Regions from separate parts of the Homo sapiens genome. Here all the other regions are linked to region 1. Evidence: promoter capture Hi-C in 16 types of primary human blood cells and fetal thymus (Javierre and others, 2016). All regions are on one chromosome and are shown on one strand. Each heading gives the region's core, a stretch centred on a gene start or on the middle of the fragment in contact. The rest is flanking DNA. Distances are from core to core; before and after follow the strand shown.

Region 1 (2,700 bases), core at 171-2,670:
ATAACATAGAATGGAGACTAAAGATCATAATGCACATTGACGCAATTAAAAACAAACATTCCTACATAAACTCATTTCTATAATTTTACCTTTGTCTTAGCAACTTCACTTTTTGACATAGTGAACAACTCATATTTCACATGTACTCACCATTGTAGCTTTTTAAAAAATAATGGACATACTATACACACTCCTATATTATTTTATATTTCAATGCTGAAATTTTAATTAACATATACATATACTCAATAAAAACAATAAAAAATATGACTCATTCTCTGGAAAATTTCATTATTAAAATTACTGTTATTTTATAATGATAACATCTCATTTTGTTGTGCCCTAGGTATAATGAAACACTCTTTTTATTATAATAAAATGCAATAAAAAGTGTTCTTCCCTGTGTTACTGCTGTTATTTTGAATTATCCTTATAAATTTTCTGATAATGAGGGTAGGCTATCATCAAAAGATGCCTCCATTAAAATATAACAATGATGGTAATAGCTTAAAACTTGTATTGTACAGCTGAAAATTCATTTGTACACATATCTCTTTTCATCCACATACCAATTCTGTTAGGTGAATATACTTAACCCCATTTTACAGATGTATCCCCATTTATATGACAATGATCATAATAGCTTAAAACTTTTATTGTACAGTTTAAAATTCACTTTCACACATATCTCTTTTAATCCACATACCAATTCTGTTAGGTAGGCATTATTATTATCCCAATTTTATAGATGTAAGTACTAAAAAGCTAAGTTGTTTTCCTTGTCCTAAGCAACACAGCTAATTAGGGAAGTTAATTTTTCTCCACTGCTTTTAATCACATTAAACTGATCCTTCTATTCAACACATGAAGTTAACATTCTATGAAAATAAAACTGGAATCTCTGAGTCTACATTGATCACAAATTGAATGTATCCTCTCAATACACTGTTTTAGTCCTTTATATCTTTGATAGAAGTGAACATCCTAATTATGCCCATGAGTTACATATATGAGATGCCTTCACCCCACTTCAATAAAACTCTTTCTTAATGCCAATATAAAAAATACTCTACATTAATTGGTAATTGTGAAAAGAGACTCAGGGAGAGAGTCTGAATCAACAAAAGAGGAAAATATAGGAAGGAAAGGGAAAGACAAAGAAGGAGGGTGAGACAGAGAAGAGAGAACAAACATCCAGGAGTAGTGATGTGAATTATTTGCTTAGTTACCACAAAAGTAATAATTACACTAACTCTGTGGGAACAATGGTAATTTCACAGTAGCTCACGTTACTGTTATCACCTTATATCCTGATAACTGTGAAATTAATTTGTGGCACTACTGTATGTGTCGGCCATAAGCTGTTCCCTTGGTAACAGTATTATGCTACCATAGAGAAGGAATGTTTGGCAGTAAAATGGGCAGCAGCAAGCTGATTACACAGGGAAAAGCTTCTATCTAAATACACATAGCATAACAATCACCCCTGGAAAAACTACATGGCTTACCAAAAGAGGTCTCTCTGTTCACTGTCCATTATCTGTTGACTGAACTAGTTCAAATGAATAACAAGTAATGATCAAATTGCCAGTTTATATTTTACAACAGAGTCTTATCTTTAAAAAAATGCAAGGAGGAAATACAAAAATGTAATACATTTATCTTGCTTTCTTTTCTATTTCCTCCCCTGAAATTATTACTATGCTATTGGAAGCCATACAAACACATATATACACAAATATACATATGCTTCAATGAAAAGCAGGCATGCAGCTGACAGCTCGGCAACCCTGAGGTATAAACAAAGATACCAGACATATTTTTTGAAATAATTTTGCTCAAGGAAATTCATTTCAGTAGGAAGATCAGTTACTCTGCTGTCTCCTACCTACAAAGTTACAGAAGGAAAAGTTCAACATTTGGCCAAAAGGATAGTAGCTTACATTTCTTTTTTTTCCTTTTTTCAGCACAGAATTTTGAAGAGAGAATACACTAAAAGGGAAGAACATAACTACATGACATCATAAGAAGTCCTGAATTAGAAGCGTATATTTGAAAGGTCATGCATCCTGAGCTGCCAACAGCTTAACAACCAGAGGCAGAGGCCAGCTTTGCCAGCTCACTGCTTCTACTCATCTTTCATGATAGTAGCCAGGCTGAATATAGTTCCAGGATGATAATGAATTGGCTGGGCATACTGTTTATATTAGTATGTATGTTCCTGTACTAAACCAAGCATCATGAGGCCAGCACTATTTTGCCATTTTTCAGAAAAAAAATATGAACCCTTCAAAACATAGTAAGCCTTTTTTAAAGTATATATTTGATTTTGAAATAATCAAAATATATGTAGGGATATGACTGCATCCTAAGATTTATGATAAGTTCTGATGAGTAATATTTTCTTTCTACATGCAAGGCAAAGTTAATAGTAACTAGAAAGTCTTTATTTGGCATATCATAGATTTCTGTCAACCAAAACAACTAACTCTGGGGAACATAACGTTCTGACAACTTCAGAAGAGTTAAGTCACAGACAAAAGTTTATTGGATCTTAGTTGGCTCCTACCCACCAATTCTTTCTTTTCCAAGTGGAACATAATAGATTTTCAATATTTGTTAAATAATTGAAAAAATATCCTCAAAATTCTTTTTTGGCCATCTTCCCAACAAGAATATGGTCCTAACCTATATGTAGAG
Region 2 (2,700 bases), core at 11-2,510, 670 kb after region 1:
TACTGGGAAATTTAAGACTCAATTGGATTATATGGTATGCCCAGAACGAGAGAACTGGCATATAAAATTTCTTCTATCTGCAACATTTTAGCTTTCAGTTAAAGTTTCCTTTTGGTAAATAAGCACACGCACATGCACACACACACACACACACACACACAGAGAGAGATAAGGAGGAGGAGAAGGAAGAAGAAGAAGGAGGAGGAGGAGGAGGAGGAAAGAAGAAGAAGAAGGCAGAAGAAAGCAGAGACTGTGAGATATGAAAAAAGAGAAACTAAGTATATGCAAAGTTCATCTGATCTGAATTCCCACCTTCCGCCCATGAAGAGACTGTTCAGGTGTTTAAACGTGATGTCCATGTTTTTGAAAACAAATTTGAGGATGCGAATCCCTTTTCTACTCTTTTCTGTACCTTGCCATAAATACAATGGCATGATCTGAGAGTTCTGTTTGTGAGTTGTATTGACAAAACATTGTCTAGCAAAAACTCAGCAATAAAAGTGTGTGGCATATTCTGCTGGGGTGTAGATATTCCTGTGTGCAGTGGGCTTCTCACTGAAGTATAAGGCATCTCCACTTCTCTAGCATTAGCATGTCTGGCTTAAAAAATAAAAAATAAGGTGACATGTCTGTCACTTCCCTCTGAGATATGCCACATGCCATAAAACATTTCAATCACCCCTTGTGCTTAGAGTAATTCTCTTTTAGGCTTGGCTCCTCCTCAAGATTTTTCAGGTAAACAGCATGAGATTAGTGTATGTAATCTATAGAAGGGAGCATGGATGTTTTTACTTCACTGTTCTTTTTAAATTGAAATAACAGCAAACAAGCTTAATTTAACAGTGATTTTTGAGCATTAATAGAAGAATGAGAAAGGAAGAAATCCTACAAAGGAATACTATTATTGAGGAAAATCTCAATAATCTACATGATATTTCCAAGTGGTAGATTTTATCTCAAAATGTCTATGTCTAGAAATCTGTAGTATACAGTTCCAAGTAGTCAAAGTTTCCTTATATGGCTCCATGTGTACAGGCACATCATGATTGTGTCTGTTTTTCTGTGAGTTTTCCAGGCTAAAGTTTCCCAGCTTGGCAACAATGCGGCACAGGGTCTGTTAGCTTAAGGCAATTGATTCTTCCCCTGATTTTGGCACTGCACTAGAACGGCTCTCAATCCAAAATCAAGGAGAGAAGAAAGAGAGAACTGAAAAGACAAGAAGGGAGGGAGGACGCCAGGAAGGGGAGAGAGAAAGAAAAAAATATATATATTACTGACAAAATACTACTTGATAACCAACGTTGTCAGTACAATCATTGTCACTCGATTTAAGATGGCACAATTTAAAATTCATAATGAAATCTATTTTAACTGTGAAATATATAGATTTCGAAAAGATTTTTCTTTTGCAAAAGTATGAATGCTGTGAAATACATGCTTCTTTTTTTACATTGCATTTTAACCTCTTAGGATAACTTTACCATAAATGATGTGAAGTTGTAGCTATCAGCCATATCCAATTAAAAATGCTAAGCCAGTTTCATCTAGAAAGAGAGACGCTGACAATATCTAAATATATATATATATGATAAATTAGTTATTGTCAAAGCGATCACCACTCATTATTGTGCTTATACAACAGTGTCATCTAGTGGACACTGGTCAGGCAAGTTGTAACTAAGATTCCTGAAGAAGCTTATTTAAAATGAACTATCCTTAAATGAAAATATGCTTTATCTTTTTCAATTCTCTGAAACTAAAGCAATTTAAATAATTATTTCTAGTCCAGGCCATCATTTCAATTCATATTTTACCAGAATAGTAAAGGAACTGAGAACTTGTGTCTGCAGAAAAAAATAATTTTAAGATCACATTTCTTAAGAAGGCAAAGAAGAACAAAAGAAAATAACAAAATTACTATAAAAGGTAGATGTCAGTATATGTATGGCATTAGGAAGAGAAAGTTGGAGCTGGAAGATTATTGAGCAGAGTTCCAGTCTTTAAATCTAAATGACTAGTGGCTACATCAACAATGACAAAACAAAGGAAGTATATGGGAGTTCTGTGGTCTCACCTCCACAGCTTTGCCATTTTTCTAGTACCTTTTTTGTATATTTGTGTAGAAGAGATATCTCCTTTGAAACACATTTTTTAAAAAGGCATCTTTTCTTATAAAAACATTAAATGTCATTCATTTTGAGTATTAAATTTCTGTGTCATCAAAGCCAGTTAGCTTTAATTTTTCCCCAACAAATCAAATGCTGGAGATATATAATGGGCACTGCAATCTATTTAATAATGTTGCTGATTCCCTGCATTTTTTATTGAAAAAATAAGGAAATATTGCATTCACTGGAAAGATGAAAAATAAAGCTTTTTAGCATTTCATCAAAATAAATATGGACACTCATTTTTAAAACCCCGGTATAATATCGTGTGAATTTTCTCACATCAACTAAGCAGCGATTAACACCTACAGGCCCATGCCCTTGCTTTGCATTTTGAAACTACTCAAAGGTAAAGTGTTGTTTTAGGGTTCTTTTTGTTACAGAGAAAGTGGGAGGAAAAGGAATATTAAAGCTATTAATAGGTACAAAGTTTCTGTTTTTTAAGTATCGAGTTCTAGTTGTATGTTTCAGTTTTTCTAAACAGAATGTTTTATGCCAATTTGATATCTTTGATAGTATTATATTATTTGGT
Region 3 (2,700 bases), core at 149-2,648, 830 kb before region 1:
AGATAGCCGTTGATGTCTTTTTTAAATGCAGTGGTAATTTCCCCCCCAAGATTATTGCCATATGGATGGAAACTTGTGGTAGAAAGTTATCCTAAGCTTCAAATTTCATTCATACTTTGCGATTTTCCTGGCATCACCATTTCTTTAAGCATAGTTAAATTATATTGTGTAGAATCTTTCATATGGTCCAATATGCAGTTATTTCTGGGACAAAGTTAGCATTTGGTAGTATTTCCTGCCAAGGAATTTTGCAAAGGAAATTGCTATGCTGTGGTATTGCATGAAGGATGTAATTTGCTGGGGTACTGAATACCTACCACAATGAATAAAAATACGTACTCACAGCAGAAAAAAAATCCTGGACTAGAAAAACCTGCCTTGTTCTTCTTCCCTCTGTGAGTCACAGTCAGGCTGGAAAGAGGACAAGTACACAGCTCTGGAGAGAAAAGTAAACGAGATCAGGTGCTCATGTCATGATTACACTCAGGTGGAAGAAAATACTTTTCGAGTCTGGAATGTTCTAGACACCCACATGTGGCTTTGTAATTAATATGGTGATTGAACACATTTATAAAATTCTGGGCAAGGAACAGAAGATAGATTAATGGAAAAACTTTCCATTAGTGTAGTCTGCTAAGAAAACCCCAGAGATTTCTCAAAGTTCTTTTTGGAATATCTCATTTGGAGGCTTACATAAGAAGAATCATAGAAAGAAAACATCGTAGTGATAAGGGGTCTTGGAAATGGTTCATTTCTAACCCTTCATTTCCTAGGCAAAGTGTATTTTCAGCATTTTAGAATCGTATCAAATGAGAGTGAACCTCTAGGTGAAAAATGGGCCAGGGAACTTGAATTTCTTTTGAGCCCTAAGTTTTCATGTTTTAATAAAAATAGATATAAAAGTACTTTCGTTGAAATAAAAGCCCTCCATAAATTCTAGAGATTTTAGTTATCTTAGCTGTTGGTTAGATGCCATAGAGTGAGACAGTAACAATAAAACCAGATCTACACTGGCTGAAAAAAGGTTGTCTTTGTCTATGGAGCCTTCCAAGGGAGGTAAAAGCAGCTTTGGCCTGCTGACTGGTCAACGGGGAGCACTTGAAAAGAGCTTAGAATTTCCAAATCGACACAAAAGCAGTATAGGTGTCACTTCAATCTCATATAACCTTAAAAAAAAACCCTTGTTCTCTTTTTGATTCTGAATGAATATGGCCTAAAAAGAGGCCATGGGAAAGCAGGATGATATTTGCATACTCACCATGAAGACTGTACTTGTAATATATTCTTAATATTGAAGTCTTTGTTTTTAGAAAGGTGAAATACACCTCTCCCTCCCCTAATACATTCCAAGCTGAAACATGGTACCAAGAGCTTCATCCTGCACAGTTTCATTATTAACAGTGCTATCATTAATGCAAATGTTGACACATTATCTGCACAACCATTTTCTAGTAAGGAAATCCACAAATAATATTTGACATCTTGTTTACATAGCAGCTACAGTGTGTATTTTTCACTCTTCTTTATATCTTTACTGCATATTGGAGCTCCACATCATTTTGGCCTAGTTCAAAATCTTTTAATATGCAAACCTGAATCAACATCAAAGGAAAAATCAGCTTCAAAATGATTTTCCACACTAATAGTCTTTTGCATCTACACCAAATATTATCACATTGATTACTATACATTTTTAAGATTCCATGGTTTCATAACGCTTTTTCTGACCATTAATATGATGTATGGACTTTCACAATATGTTTCTTGGGCATAATTTTTAAATAAGTTTTCATTTTCTTTTTTAAAATATAAACTTAATTAAATGTACATTTTTTCATCATAATCTAGGCTTTTCTAAGATCAGGGTGTTAATGATACTTCAATTATTTTAAACCATTGTTTGCAATACAATTAAGCAGACATCGTGAATCTTTAACATTAAGATTTCCTCTATATGAAGAAATTATATAACCATTGCAAAAGTGCTATCAATTCTGCAGGATTTTAATCAGAAACAATCTTTTAAGAGCCATACTTCACCATAGGATGCAAACATCTTGTCTCCTAAGAAAAGCATTGTAGAGAGGGTTTGCTAATTGATTTTTCCTTAAGAACAATCTGTTTCTTTTCCAGTTTATTATAGGAAACACTGGCATTTGTCATTTTTCCAATATTTGGAGCTTGCTGCCTTAATAAATGCACATATCAGATGATGCTCTCTCCCTGTCTGATGGGCGGATGGTGTTGGGCAGAGGAAGGTCACAATGATGCTAAATTTGCTGCTGAGCAAAGGATCAAAGTGTAAATGGAATCCAGAAAGCTGGGAAATGTAAGTGTGCCAGTGTAAATAATCTATTAATTATTGACAGCTAAGAGACTGAAAATTCCTATTTAGTCATGACATCTTTATTTTCATACTGATGGAATCATTTCTGGCATTTTTAAAATTAAAGGTTTTTTTTTTACTGTAGATATAAAATATTTCAATTTATAGTACATCTCTGCTGGTGTTTTCTTCTTCTTTTGACATTTTTGTCTGATTTCCACATATTAAAACAATATCAGATATGACAAAAGGCAAGAAGAGCTCCAAGTATGAAAAATAGAACAATGGTGTTAGGGTTGCCTATACATTAAAAAAAAAATCTGTTCCAACACAGAGGGAAAACAAACCTCCAGGTACAAAGTAAGTGATGTTTG
Region 4 (2,700 bases), core at 153-2,652, 650 kb before region 1:
AAATTATTATTCTTGCCATGATTCTCTGGTCATCAAACCCTGCTATGCATCACCATGAAACAAATATCAAATAAAGGATAAGTCTCAGGAAAACCCCAGAACTGGATTTCAATGCTCAGATCCTGAAAAAGTATTCTCTGATTTTAAGACATTTGCTGATTCAAGTGACTTTTTAAAGCAAAAAGACAACAAATGGGTACGCTTCCTTAATGCAGAGACATAGGCAAATGCCTTTCTTTCAGCTTTACGCAAAGATAGAAGAAGAATCTCTTACATTCTGGGCAACCATCTGGAACTCTATTAATTGGTGTATGAAGCAAGCTAAACTATAAGCTCAGATGTAACATGAAACAAATATACTCAATTAATGGAAGGTAAAATTACAGTCCCCAAATGGAAAGAACTACAAGTTCTCTGGTCATTCTACACGAAAAGTTCATTTTGACATTTCAGTTATATTAACAATCTGTTCCTGCTTTGGTGGTCTGGAAAGAATGAACAGCAATATTCATAATCTCTACTATCAACTTTGCTAAATTTTTTCCCCAAAGACCATCTTTATTACCCTGTAACTTTCACTACTTGAAGTGTTCCCATTTCTACAATAAATAGATTAAAATCAACAGAGAAAAGCTTCAAAAAGTGACAGGGTTGTTGGAATTTTTCTTGGGATTGTTATGACTCCTTCTTTATACACAGGTCATCTGAGTCATAATGAAACACCAACTATTCAGAGTCACATGCTGTGCTTTGTGCTTTTGGTTGATCAGAAAAGCAGTGAACTTGATCCCATCACTATAATCTGATGCAGCAAGGAAGAGTGATAACAATTATTCTTAGCTGATTTATTTTTTTCTTACAAATCACTTTCTTATGCACACAGAACTGCCAAAATGGCATCAGTTCTCTCACTAAATCTTGCAAATAAAACAGTATACCTTTCAACGTGGTGGCTGAGATTGTGTGATGTGGAGAAAAGGAAGATATGCAGAGATGTTAGCATGGCCACAGGGTGATGGTGGTGGTGGTGCTGGGGCAAGTGTGCACTACTAATAGGAGAAGATGTCAAAAAAAATGAAGCATAATAATAGTGCAATTTATCCTTGCTAAACGTACTGCAGTGTGCTATAATTAAATATGAAAACCTAAATTTATCTCTATGTTCGGTTGTCATTAATTTAACAGGGAGTGCACATGTTCTAATCTAATGGTTGATTTTTTTTCTCCATGTGCAGCATATTAAAATGTATATTAGCCTCAAGGTGCATAAACACAAAATAATAGACCAAAGGTTTTGGCCTGTGGAGAAAAAAAATCCATGCTCAAAGGCCGTCAAGTAGCTGTGATGCAGGGGAGACACTCACTTAGCCTCATTAAGCCAAAGCTCTCTTTTGCTTGTCTTTTGTTCTGCATGACAGCAGCCTCTTTGTTGTATAATAATTCATTCCAAGTTCGTTCCAAGCTACCGAAACTGGTGAACTGTGGCCATTTTAATGAGAAGTATTGGTGGTATGCATAATCTGGAAGCCACGTGGGCCAGACAATCACAGAGCACTGCAGCCAGCAAAATGAGATATTGTCGAAATCACAAATTTGTCAAGTTGTTTTTGGACAGGGTATTATAATAAGCACTAAAATATGCATCCTATTACTCTGCATCTGCCAGTCAAAGATCACTGTAATGAATGCGTGCTGCAGGGTATAACCAGGCCGTTTTCCTAAGTAAAACAAACCACAGAGTACAGAAAAGAATTGTGTGGGTTTTTTTTTTTTTTTTTGGCATTGTTTGACTTTTTTTTTTTTCCTAATCCTTTTGCACCAGGAGTCAGGTTCTCCTGGCATGGTGTCCACTGCTAGCAGTGAATACACAGGCCCTGCTGGTGCCAGGGAGTTAACATGAATACATTGCTTTTTTAATAGGTGTGCTTACCATCTGAGAATACAAAACCTCAAACTCAAGGCTTCAATTGAGTCTACTGAAGAATTCCTGGGAGAGAAAAGGGAAAAAGGAGGAGAAAAAAATATCTCTCCCAATGATCCTAAGCCTTATGTTTTATCCTTTTCTACTTCAAATGGCTTAGCCTTTGGGACTTGTTTTGTTGTTTGTTTTTCTGTTTGTTTATTTTTGCTTTTTTGTCTGTCTGTTGATTTATTTGCTTTTTAGATGAACCTAAAGCTTTGGGAAGAAATGGGTGAGATGCTAATCTATCCCAGTTCTATAATATTAATAGTTTGTATAAGAAAACTAATACAATGTTGACAAGTAGAGAGAGTATTTTCACTTGCCCATAAAAATGGTCCTTAGGGAGAGTGACCATATACTTTCTCATCTAAACCAGAACTCTTTTGAGAGTGAAGGGAAGATATTATCGATAATTACAGGCACAAAAAGCAAGACTGTCAGAGACAAACTGGCCTATATGATCATCCCAACCATAAGCTCTTGAATTGGCAAATGTAAAGGAAGCACACCATGTCCAAAGGCCATACAATACATCCTGTTATTCTGGGCAGTCTCTATGAAACATTCAGGGTTATTTGTTTGTTTGTTTGTCTGTTCTGTTTTCAGCCAATGGACTTTCCATAAGGTCTGGATGGAAATAAAATGATTGTTAAATCTAAGAATACGGAGAATACTCTTCCATTCTTTTCTAGCCATTTTTTAAACCTTACGGAACCTTTTTTGTGTGTGTGATCAGG

The links. The method cuts DNA at HindIII sites, captures the fragments that hold promoters and counts their contacts. A CHiCAGO score of 5 or more calls a contact.
Region 2: a fragment that was not itself captured here is called in contact with the fragment with the promoter of DPYD-AS2 in region 1 in 5 of 17 cell types (endothelial precursors, M2 macrophages, M0 macrophages and 2 more); the score reaches 9.4 in endothelial precursors.
Region 3: a contact is called between a fragment that was not itself captured here and the fragment with the promoter of DPYD-AS2 in region 1, in 1 of 17 cell types (megakaryocytes). The highest score is 5.2, in megakaryocytes.
Region 4: a fragment that was not itself captured here is called in contact with the fragment with the promoter of DPYD-AS2 in region 1 in 1 of 17 cell types (endothelial precursors); the score reaches 7.4 in endothelial precursors.

The regions. Positions count from the first base shown.
Region 1 is chr1:97,795,501-97,798,200 of GRCh38, forward strand. DPYD-AS2 (DPYD antisense RNA 2) reads left to right here and starts at 1,421. Exons shown (of 3, transcript NR_046591.1): 1 at 1,421-1,572; 2 at 1,715-1,795; 3 at 1,968-2,551. The region is part of intron 3 of DPYD (dihydropyrimidine dehydrogenase); the gene reads right to left. The HindIII fragment of the contact is 2,382 bases long and covers 1-1,449 here.
Region 2 is chr1:98,466,668-98,469,367 of GRCh38, forward strand. No RefSeq gene overlaps it. Among named protein-coding and RNA genes, the nearest start is that of SNX7-DT, 190 kb to the right of the region's middle. The HindIII fragment of the contact is 865 bases long and covers 829-1,693 here.
Region 3 is chr1:96,962,667-96,965,366 of GRCh38, forward strand. No RefSeq gene overlaps it. Among named protein-coding and RNA genes, the nearest start is that of DPYD-AS1, 130 kb to the right of the region's middle. The HindIII fragment of the contact is 2,609 bases long and covers 95-2,700 here.
Region 4 is chr1:97,143,983-97,146,682 of GRCh38, forward strand. All of the region lies in intron 20 of DPYD (dihydropyrimidine dehydrogenase), which reads right to left. The region is part of intron 1 of DPYD-AS1 (DPYD antisense RNA 1); the gene reads left to right. Among named protein-coding and RNA genes, the nearest start is that of DPYD-AS1, 49 kb to the left of the region's middle. RefSeq lists an enhancer at 953-2,203. The HindIII fragment of the contact is 1,543 bases long and covers 632-2,174 here.